Linked DNA regions of Homo sapiens: all the other regions are linked to region 1. The links are contacts of gene promoters, found by promoter capture Hi-C in blood cells and fetal thymus (Javierre and others, 2016). All regions are on one chromosome and are shown on one strand. The core of a region is centred on a gene start or on the middle of the fragment in contact, and the rest is flanking DNA. Distances in the headings are between cores, read along the strand shown. Region 1 holds the start of PEX19 (peroxisomal biogenesis factor 19). Region 2 overlaps LOC124904438 (a long non-coding RNA gene). Region 3 has its middle 26 kb from the start of CD84.

Region 1 (2,644 bases), core at 94-2,593:
CCTTAATAATAGGTGCTCTCTAAGTGCGAAAACAGATTTGTATGTGAAACAGTTGCTACATTCTGACATCTGAATAGAACAATTCCAAAGGAGGAAAGGGACGTCTAGAGTTACCTCTATCTGAGCATTCCCCGTGTTCACTCAGTTGGAGGTTGGGTTCTGTGTGGAGAAAAGGAGATTGTTCAGGGAAAGTAAGTCTATTACTACTGCATTCGAATTGCCCTGCTCAGTCCAAGGTACCAGAGGCTCTCTTAATAACATGGAGTTCTAAGTTCCTGGCCGGCCCTGTGTCCTTTAATCAAACAGTTCTAATAGATAATAGGAAATGAGAGATGCCACTAGATTGGGCAGACAGATGTGCCTGATTAGGGACTGCGAGAGCAAAGAGTGGCCAATGAATGCCTACTAAGTTTTAAACCCTAGCCTGGGAGTTGGGCTTTACAGCAGTGAAGACAACAGACGAAAATCTTTGCGTTCATGGTGTTTAAATTCTGCAGGGTGGGGAGCGGAGAATAAAAAAGTACGGTAGATAGTATGTCAGATACTGTTCAGTGTTAGGAAGAAAAGGAACGGGAATGGCCAAGGAAAGCGTTTCAGAAAAGATAATATTTGAGGGAAACAATGAAGTGAAGCCGGGCGCAGTGGCTCACGCCTGTAATCCCAGCACTTCGGGAGGCCGAGGTGGGCGGATCAGCTGAGGTCCGGAGTTCGAGACCAGCCTGGCCAACCAGCCTGGCCAACATGTTAAAACCCCGTCTCTACAAAAATTAGTCGGACGTGGTGTCGCGCGCCTGTCATCCCAGCTACACGGGAGGCTGAGGCAGGAAGAATCGCTTGAACCCGGGAGGCCAAGGCTGCAGTGAGCCGAGATGGCGCCACTGCATTCCAGCGTAGGCGACAGAGCAAGATTCCTTCTCAAAAAAAAATAAAAAAAAAAAAATGAAGTGAGAGAAAGTAGTATGTTATGTGCCATAATTGTCATATCAATTATATATGTTTAGATTCTGGTTATTTGTAGGCAGTTTGTCTCAATCTGGCCTACTCACAGCTCAGGAAAAAATAATGAAAGAGCTTCGCCAGGTAATTTGGGAAGTTGAAAGAAAGGAGTCCGGGCCTCTAAAACCAGACAGAAAATAACCCTATCTTATCCCTAATTCTGTTTCACAGGAGAAAAGGGAAAAATACCCAAAACACAAACACTCAAAGCTTCCTGGCCCTTTAAAAATGGCGGTTCCGCACTGGTCAACAATACCATTGGTTACCCGAGGCAGAAGAGGGCGGGAGCGAAGGGGTGGAGGGCGTGTCGGCACCGAGGAGGTCCCGCCTCCTACGGCAAGTCGGAGGTAGCAAGATGGCCGCCGCTGAGGAAGGCTGTAGTGTCGGGGCCGAAGCGGACAGGGAATTGGAGGAGCTTCTGGAAAGTAAGAGCCCATAGTGGGAAAGGCCCGAAGAGGGCACGTGTGAGGACCCATTCTGGGGGTTAAGTGAACCTGAGATATTAGGGACGGGCAGGAGAGGCTCTCCAAAGGTTAAATGGGGGCGGAGAGTCTGACCCCCGAGCCCCCCAAAAATCTCTGGGTCATCCTGCCCCACCCCGGCGACTGGAGCTGGGGAGCTCACCTGGGGTCCCTCAGTGGTCCGGATGGTGGATGTTTCCGCAGGACGGCGTTTCATGATACCTCTTCAAACTCCTCTTTAGGTTACTGAGTTCTTAAAGTTCGACTTCAGCAGCAGTAGCAGCAGCAGCAGCATTTGGTTCTTGCTGGGTAGCGAACTACGCACTCACTGATTGCTTACATTAACTCCTAGCAAGCTCGTGGCCGGTCCTTGTGTGCCTCGTCCTGTCTTCCTTAACACGAAAGACACTTTTCTCCTCCTAGTCCTTTTCTCTTTCTCTCGTTAGGCCCCTTAACAGTTCTTTCATCTTGTCAGTAGCTCAAGCGGACTCCTTTCCCTTATTTTGAGAAACTGAGGATGTGGCGATTTCAGGGGAAAGCAGTTCACCCTCCTGAAAGACGGGGGATGTTTTCTTAGCATTACTCTCCACTCCCCTGTTGACTTCCTGCCCAGAGTAGGGCCAGTGCTCTCTCCCTAGGCCTGGCGAACAGAATGGTGGTGAGGACACAGGCTTTTCAGGGCAGAGGTGAATTTGTAATCGCTTGCTCAATCACGGAGATGTGGGCAGGCAGAAAAATGAACAGAAACCCTGAGGAGTGCCAAGTGACTGTGTAAATTAGTGTACGGTTATCTGCAGAGATCAGGCCAAAGGGAGCTCTAGAAGGTTGTTGGGGAGCACTAAACTGGAGAATAAGAGAAGATAGTTTAATGCCGTACCATGGAGTCTGGTATGTAGTCCCTCAGTCTGTGCTGGTACCAGTACCAACAGGAAGCTGGGTGGGATGTCCTGTGCTTTCTCACCAAGTTATTCCTTTTAGAGCTCCAGAGTGAGTTCAGAGGGATGAGGACATCTGTGTTCTCTACTACTGTTGGGTATTTGTATGGGATTTCTAGGGAATCGTTAGGGTGTGGCAAGGGAGACACTATAGATGGAGATGTCTCTGCAGAACTTTTTAATCCTCTCCTCCCAGCTCTGAGATGGACATTTGTTCCACCTTAAGGGATTTCTTTGCCTTTGCTCACAATA
Region 2 (2,644 bases), core at 60-2,559, 340 kb after region 1:
TTCCCAAGGCCTGCTGAAATATTAGGTATACACCAGGAAGACAGAACCAATAAGATAGATAGATACAGATATAGAAATATGAGATGGGATTTATTAGGGGAATTGGCTTACATGATGGTGGAGGCCAAGTCCTACAACATGCACAAAGAAGGCCCTGGGATGGCAAAAGTGTGGCTCAGTCCAACTCCAAAAGCCTCACAACCAGGGAGGCCAATGGTATAACTCACAGTCCCAAGTCTGGAGAGCCTGGAGTTTTGATGTTCAAAGGCAAGAGGAGGAGAATACCCCAGCTCTGAGAGACAGAGAGAGAGACAGAGAGAGAAAAGAAGAAGAAGGAGAAGGAGGAGGAGGAGGAGGAGGAGGAGGAGGAAAAGCAGCAGCAGAGGAGGAGGAGGAGAAGGAGGAGGAGGAGGAAAGAGGAAAGAAGAAAGCAGGAGAAGGAGAAGAAGGAGGAAGAAGAGGAGGAGGAGGAGGAGGGGGAGAGAGAGAATATTTTCTGATATCCTTGTCAGCAATTTGAAAATATGGGGGCTGCCTGATACTTAGGTTAGGTGGAATCCTCGTTGGTTGAATAAGCTTTCCCAGAGAGTAATGACTATGAATCAAGGACAACCTAGAGGAAAGTCTTTTGTTTTGAACCTCAGGGACTATTTTTTAAATCAGCTTTCACTCCTGGCACAGTGAGGGAACAAGTTATAGGGCTAGGTTCCTTTTCTTAACAAAAAATCTCCAATATACATATAAATCAGACAAAAAATGGCAATAACAATAAAAGTCACAAAATAAGTTTCCAGAAAAAAAAGGCCATATCATAAACTTTTAAAAATTGAAAACCATTTTAAATGTCATTTAACAGAAAGTTATTTTAATGTCTAAATGAGATTAGTTTATCCTCAAGAAACCACTGGAGACAGCAGTTTAGATCAAAGGTGTGGCCAATTCTAACAGCGGGGAGGGAGATCCTTCCCAATGATTGGTAAAGATCCAAAGACTAAAAAACACTTGGCTCGGCCGGGGGCAGTGGCTCACACCTGTAATCCCAGCATTTTGGGAGGCCGAGGTGGGTGGATCATGAGGTCAGGAGTTCAAGACCAGCCTGGTCAAGATGGTGAAACCCCATCTCTACTAAAAATACAAAAATTAGCCAGGCATGGTGGTGGCCGCCTGTAATCACAGCTGCTTGGGAGGCTGAAGCAGGAGAATCGCTTGAACCCGGGAGGTGGAGGTTGCAGTGAGCCGAGATTGCACCACTGCACTCCAGCCTGGGCGATAGAGTGAGACTCTGTCAAAACAAAAAAACAAACAAACAAAAAACCCGCTTCACTCTTTTACCATTTCTTCTAGCCTTGCTTCCATGCTGCATTCATTAACATGTTTCCATTATAGTCTTATCAATAGATCAGGGTATTATGTTGAAATGCATTGTTGAAAAGCTGCTACTTTGGGACTATTTGCAGGAGGGATGGTGGGAGAGACTGGCCCACTGCTCCTGCCTCTTCCCTTCCATCTCAGTCACCCAAAAGCACTAAAACCTTTACACCTGGAAGAACTGTCCAGCAGGCAGAGCTTACTAAGGATGGAATGGGTACAACAGTAGTGCTGAGCTTCCTGGCCCAGGATGTAATGAGATAGGGGCTTGGATGACTACATGGAGAAATGATGTGCCAGGGATTCTGGGGCCAAGTAGTGCTTAGGCCCATCCTGGAGGTTCTCTCATGATGCTGCAGCAGTGATTCTGTGAGTCTGATGCCTGGTGCACTCAGTTTGAGTCTTAGTACTTCGGATTGGGATGAGATCAGCACGTTGCTTTCATGGAAGGCTTCCAAGGGAGCCAACTGAATGGGAAGGACCTGGACAGGCAATGTTGCTTAAGCCGACCCAGCATCCCTACAGCATCACCAGGCTGAGGAGGTGGAATCTCTGAGGGGCAAGATATGCAAGATATCTTTGTGTCTGAGGGCGAAGCCTCCAAGGGAGTAGGTTTGATGAAGTTTGGGTTGGGTCTCAATCCAGCTCTGCCATAACCTAGTTGGGAAAGCTTGGGCCAAGTTACTTCATCTCCCTGAGCCTCAGTTTTCTCATTAGTCAAAGGGAGCTCTACTTACTTCGCAGGGTTTCTGTGAAGGTTACACAAGAGTTATAAAGCATCTAGTCCAGGGTCTGGCACCCTGCATGGGTCCAGTAAGTGATCTTGTATTTCATTCCTCCCTTTCAATCTCCCGTGTCAGGATATCTGTCGTTTCTCCCCTCTGGGCCTGTTTCTCTGGGTCGTTGGTGCCAGAGCTGCCTTGGGAGCTGACTTGGCAACCCCACGCTCAGAGCACAGCCTTCCTCAGCTGCACACGGTGGGAGGCGCCTGGGCAAGATTTGGGAGCTCGCCAATGCAGACAGGTATTTCCAGTCCTGCTAGAGAAGCAATGGGTGGAGGTAGAAATGGGGATGGGGGAGGAGATCGGATGAGCCCGGGACCTGGGTGGATCCCCTGGGAGGAGGGCGGGGAGTCATGCTCCCCGCCTGGTTCTCCTACCCCCAGGCTCAGATTTCAACCCTCGCTGCCGCCTCTGTGGCGCGCCCGTTCGGGGAGCGGAGAGGGTCGCCCGTAGGTTCCGAAAGAAGGACGGCGTACCAGTAGCCTGGCAAGGGG
Region 3 (2,644 bases), core at 43-2,542, 320 kb before region 1:
GGGCCACAGGGAGAAGGAAACTTCCAGCTGAACTTTGTAATAATTTTGACTGAGTACGAATTGTCCTGGTCAGGATCTGTGGAGATGAATAGAAAGTGCAGATATGAGCACAGAAGCCACAGCAGGCAGGGAGGGGTGAGGCCTGAAAGCCCTGCTTGCCTTCTCAGCAGAGAGGCTAGTATCCCAGGGCAACATCCCAGCCCTGCATACCAGAGGCTTGGATATAAATTTGGCTCTTTGGGGAGCATGGCAGGAGTGAGACTGGCCTTGCTGGCTGTGTGGGAGTGGGGAGAGGCCTGTCACCACTGGCTTTCCCCCACTTCCCTGGCTACCTGTACAAAGCAGCAGAGGCAGCCATAATCCCCCTGGGAACATAACTCCATTGGCCTGAGAACCACACCCCCATACCGCACAGTTGCCACAGCAAGCCCTGTCCAAGGATAGTCTGAGCTCAGACATGCTCAACTCTGCCCCCACCTGATGGTCTTTTTCTGCCAGCCCTGGTAGCTGAAGACAAAAGACATAATCTTGTGGGAGCCCTATGGCCCTCCCATCACCTGAGAAACCCAAATACTTATCCAGGTGACCTTAGGGCAAGCTTGTATTCCCCCGTACTGCTGCAGCTGATGCTCTCTTGAAATCGCCACCTTCTGGCTGGAGGCCAATCAAGTCAAGCCATTATAGCAACTCATAACAAAATAGCCCTGCTCCAAGGAAGGAGAAAACAACAGCTAATTCCACCACTTGTAACGTCCTGGCTAACCAGAGGTCCTGAGTCTGTCCATGTGACAACTTCACTGTTAGCATAACCAGCATTTGAGAAAACCTGTGCACTAAACAAAACTACAACCAAGGACTCTCACAGAATCCACTTCACTGCCCTGCTACCTTCACTGGAGTAGGTGCTCGTATCCGTGGTTGAGAGACCTGAAAATAGATCACAACACAGGACTCTTTGCAGACACTCCCCAGTACCAGCCTGGAGCCTGGTAGGTCCACTAGGTGGCTAGACCCAGAAAAGCAATAACAATCACTGCAGTTCAGCTCTTGGGAAGCCCCATCTGTAGGGGAAAGGGGAGAGCACCACATCAAAGGATCACCCTGTGGGACAAAAGAATCTGAACAGCAGCCCTTGAGTCCTAGACCTTTCCTCTGACATAATTGACCCAAATGAGAAAGAACCAGAAAAACAATTCTGGCAATATAATTAAACAAAGTTCTATCACACCACCAAAAGATCACACTAGCTCACCAGTAATGGATTCAAACCAAGAAGAAATCTCTGAATTGCCAGAAAAAGAATTCAGAAGGTTGATTATTAAGCTACTCAAGTAGGCACCAGAGAAAGGTGAAAACCAACTTAAAGAAATTTTTAAAATAATACAAGATATGGACAAAAACACTGTAAAGAAATAGATATTATAAATAAAAAACAATAAGAACTTCTGGAAATAAAAGACATGCTTAGAGAAATGCAAAATACACTGAAAAGTTTTAACAATAGAATGGAACAAGTAGAAGAAAGAACCTCAGAGCTCAAAGACAATGCTATTGAATTAATCCAATCTAACACAGACAAAGAAAAAAGTTTTTTTTAATGAACAAAGCCTCCAGCCAATTTGGGATTATGTTAAATGACCAAACCTAAGAATAATTTGTGTTCCTGAGGAACTCAAAGAACACCCAGGAAATTCATTGCAAAAAGATAATTACCTAAACACACAGGTTTAGGTAATCTAAACCATCAGGTTATCTAAAGTCAAGATGAAGGAATGAATCTTAAGAGCTGTGAGGCAAAAGCATCAGGTATCCTATAAAGGAAAACCTATAAGATTAACAGCAGATTCCTCAGCAGAAATCCTACAAGCTAGAAGGGATTGGGGTCCTATCTTTCATATCCTTAAACTAAGTAATTATCCTTACTTTAGCCTCCTTAAAAGAATAATTATCAGCCAAGAATTTTGTATCTGGCAAAACTAAGCTTCATATATGAAGGGAAGATAAAGTCTTTTTCAGACAAGCAAATGCTGAATGTATCACTACCAAGAGAATTTGCCACTACAAAGTCAGCACTATAAGAACTGCTAAAAGGAATTCTAAATCTTGAAACAAAACCTCAAAATACACCAAAATAGAACCTTCTTAAAACATAAATCTCACAGGACCTATGAAACAATAACACAATGAAAAAAAAAACCAAGCAATTCAGGCAACAACTAGCACAATGAATAGAATAGTACCTCATATCTCAATACTGACATTAAAAGTAAATGGCCTAAATGCTCCACTTACAAGATCCAGAGTGTCAGAATGAATAAGAATTCACCAACCAAGTATCTGCTGTCTTTAAGAGACTTGCCTAACACATAAGGACTAACATAAACTTAAGGTAAAGGGGTGGAAAAATATATTGCATTCAAATGGACACAAAACTGAGCAGGAGTAACTATTCTTATATCAGACCAAACAGACTTTAAAGCAAGAATAGTTTTAAAAGACAAAGAGGGACAATCCATAACAATAAAAGGACTAGTCCAGCAGGAAAATATTACAATCCTAAATATATATGCATCTAACACTGGAGTTCCCAAATTTATAAGACAATCACTGCTAGATGTAAGAAATGAAATAGGAACACAATAAT

The links. Contacts are between HindIII fragments. The CHiCAGO score rates a contact against its expected background, and 5 or more counts as called.
Region 2: a fragment that was not itself captured here is called in contact with the fragment with the promoter of PEX19 in region 1 in 1 of 17 cell types (erythroblasts); the score reaches 5.2 in erythroblasts.
Region 3: a contact is called between a fragment that was not itself captured here and the fragment with the promoter of PEX19 in region 1, in 1 of 17 cell types (fetal thymus). The highest score is 6.6, in fetal thymus.

The regions. Positions count from the first base shown.
Region 1 is chr1:160,283,832-160,286,475 of GRCh38, reverse strand. It overlaps PEX19 (peroxisomal biogenesis factor 19), which reads left to right and starts at 1,343. Exons shown (of 8, transcript NM_002857.4): 1 at 1,343-1,421. The coding sequence starts at 1,352. It overlaps LOC107985219 (a long non-coding RNA gene), which reads right to left and starts at 2,111. Exons shown (of 3, transcript XR_001738265.2): 1 at 1,621-2,111; 2 at 115-159. The HindIII fragment of the contact is 4,290 bases long and covers 1,209-2,644 here.
Region 2 is chr1:159,945,914-159,948,557 of GRCh38, reverse strand. LOC124904438 (a long non-coding RNA gene) reads right to left here. Exons shown (of 3, transcript XR_007066684.1): 2 at 2,106-2,406. Among named protein-coding and RNA genes, the nearest start is that of IGSF9, 1.6 kb to the right of the region's middle. RefSeq lists an enhancer at 2,322-2,644. The HindIII fragment of the contact is 1,462 bases long and covers 579-2,040 here.
Region 3 is chr1:160,603,816-160,606,459 of GRCh38, reverse strand. No RefSeq gene overlaps it. Among named protein-coding and RNA genes, the nearest start is that of CD84, 26 kb to the right of the region's middle. The HindIII fragment of the contact is 1,383 bases long and covers 601-1,983 here.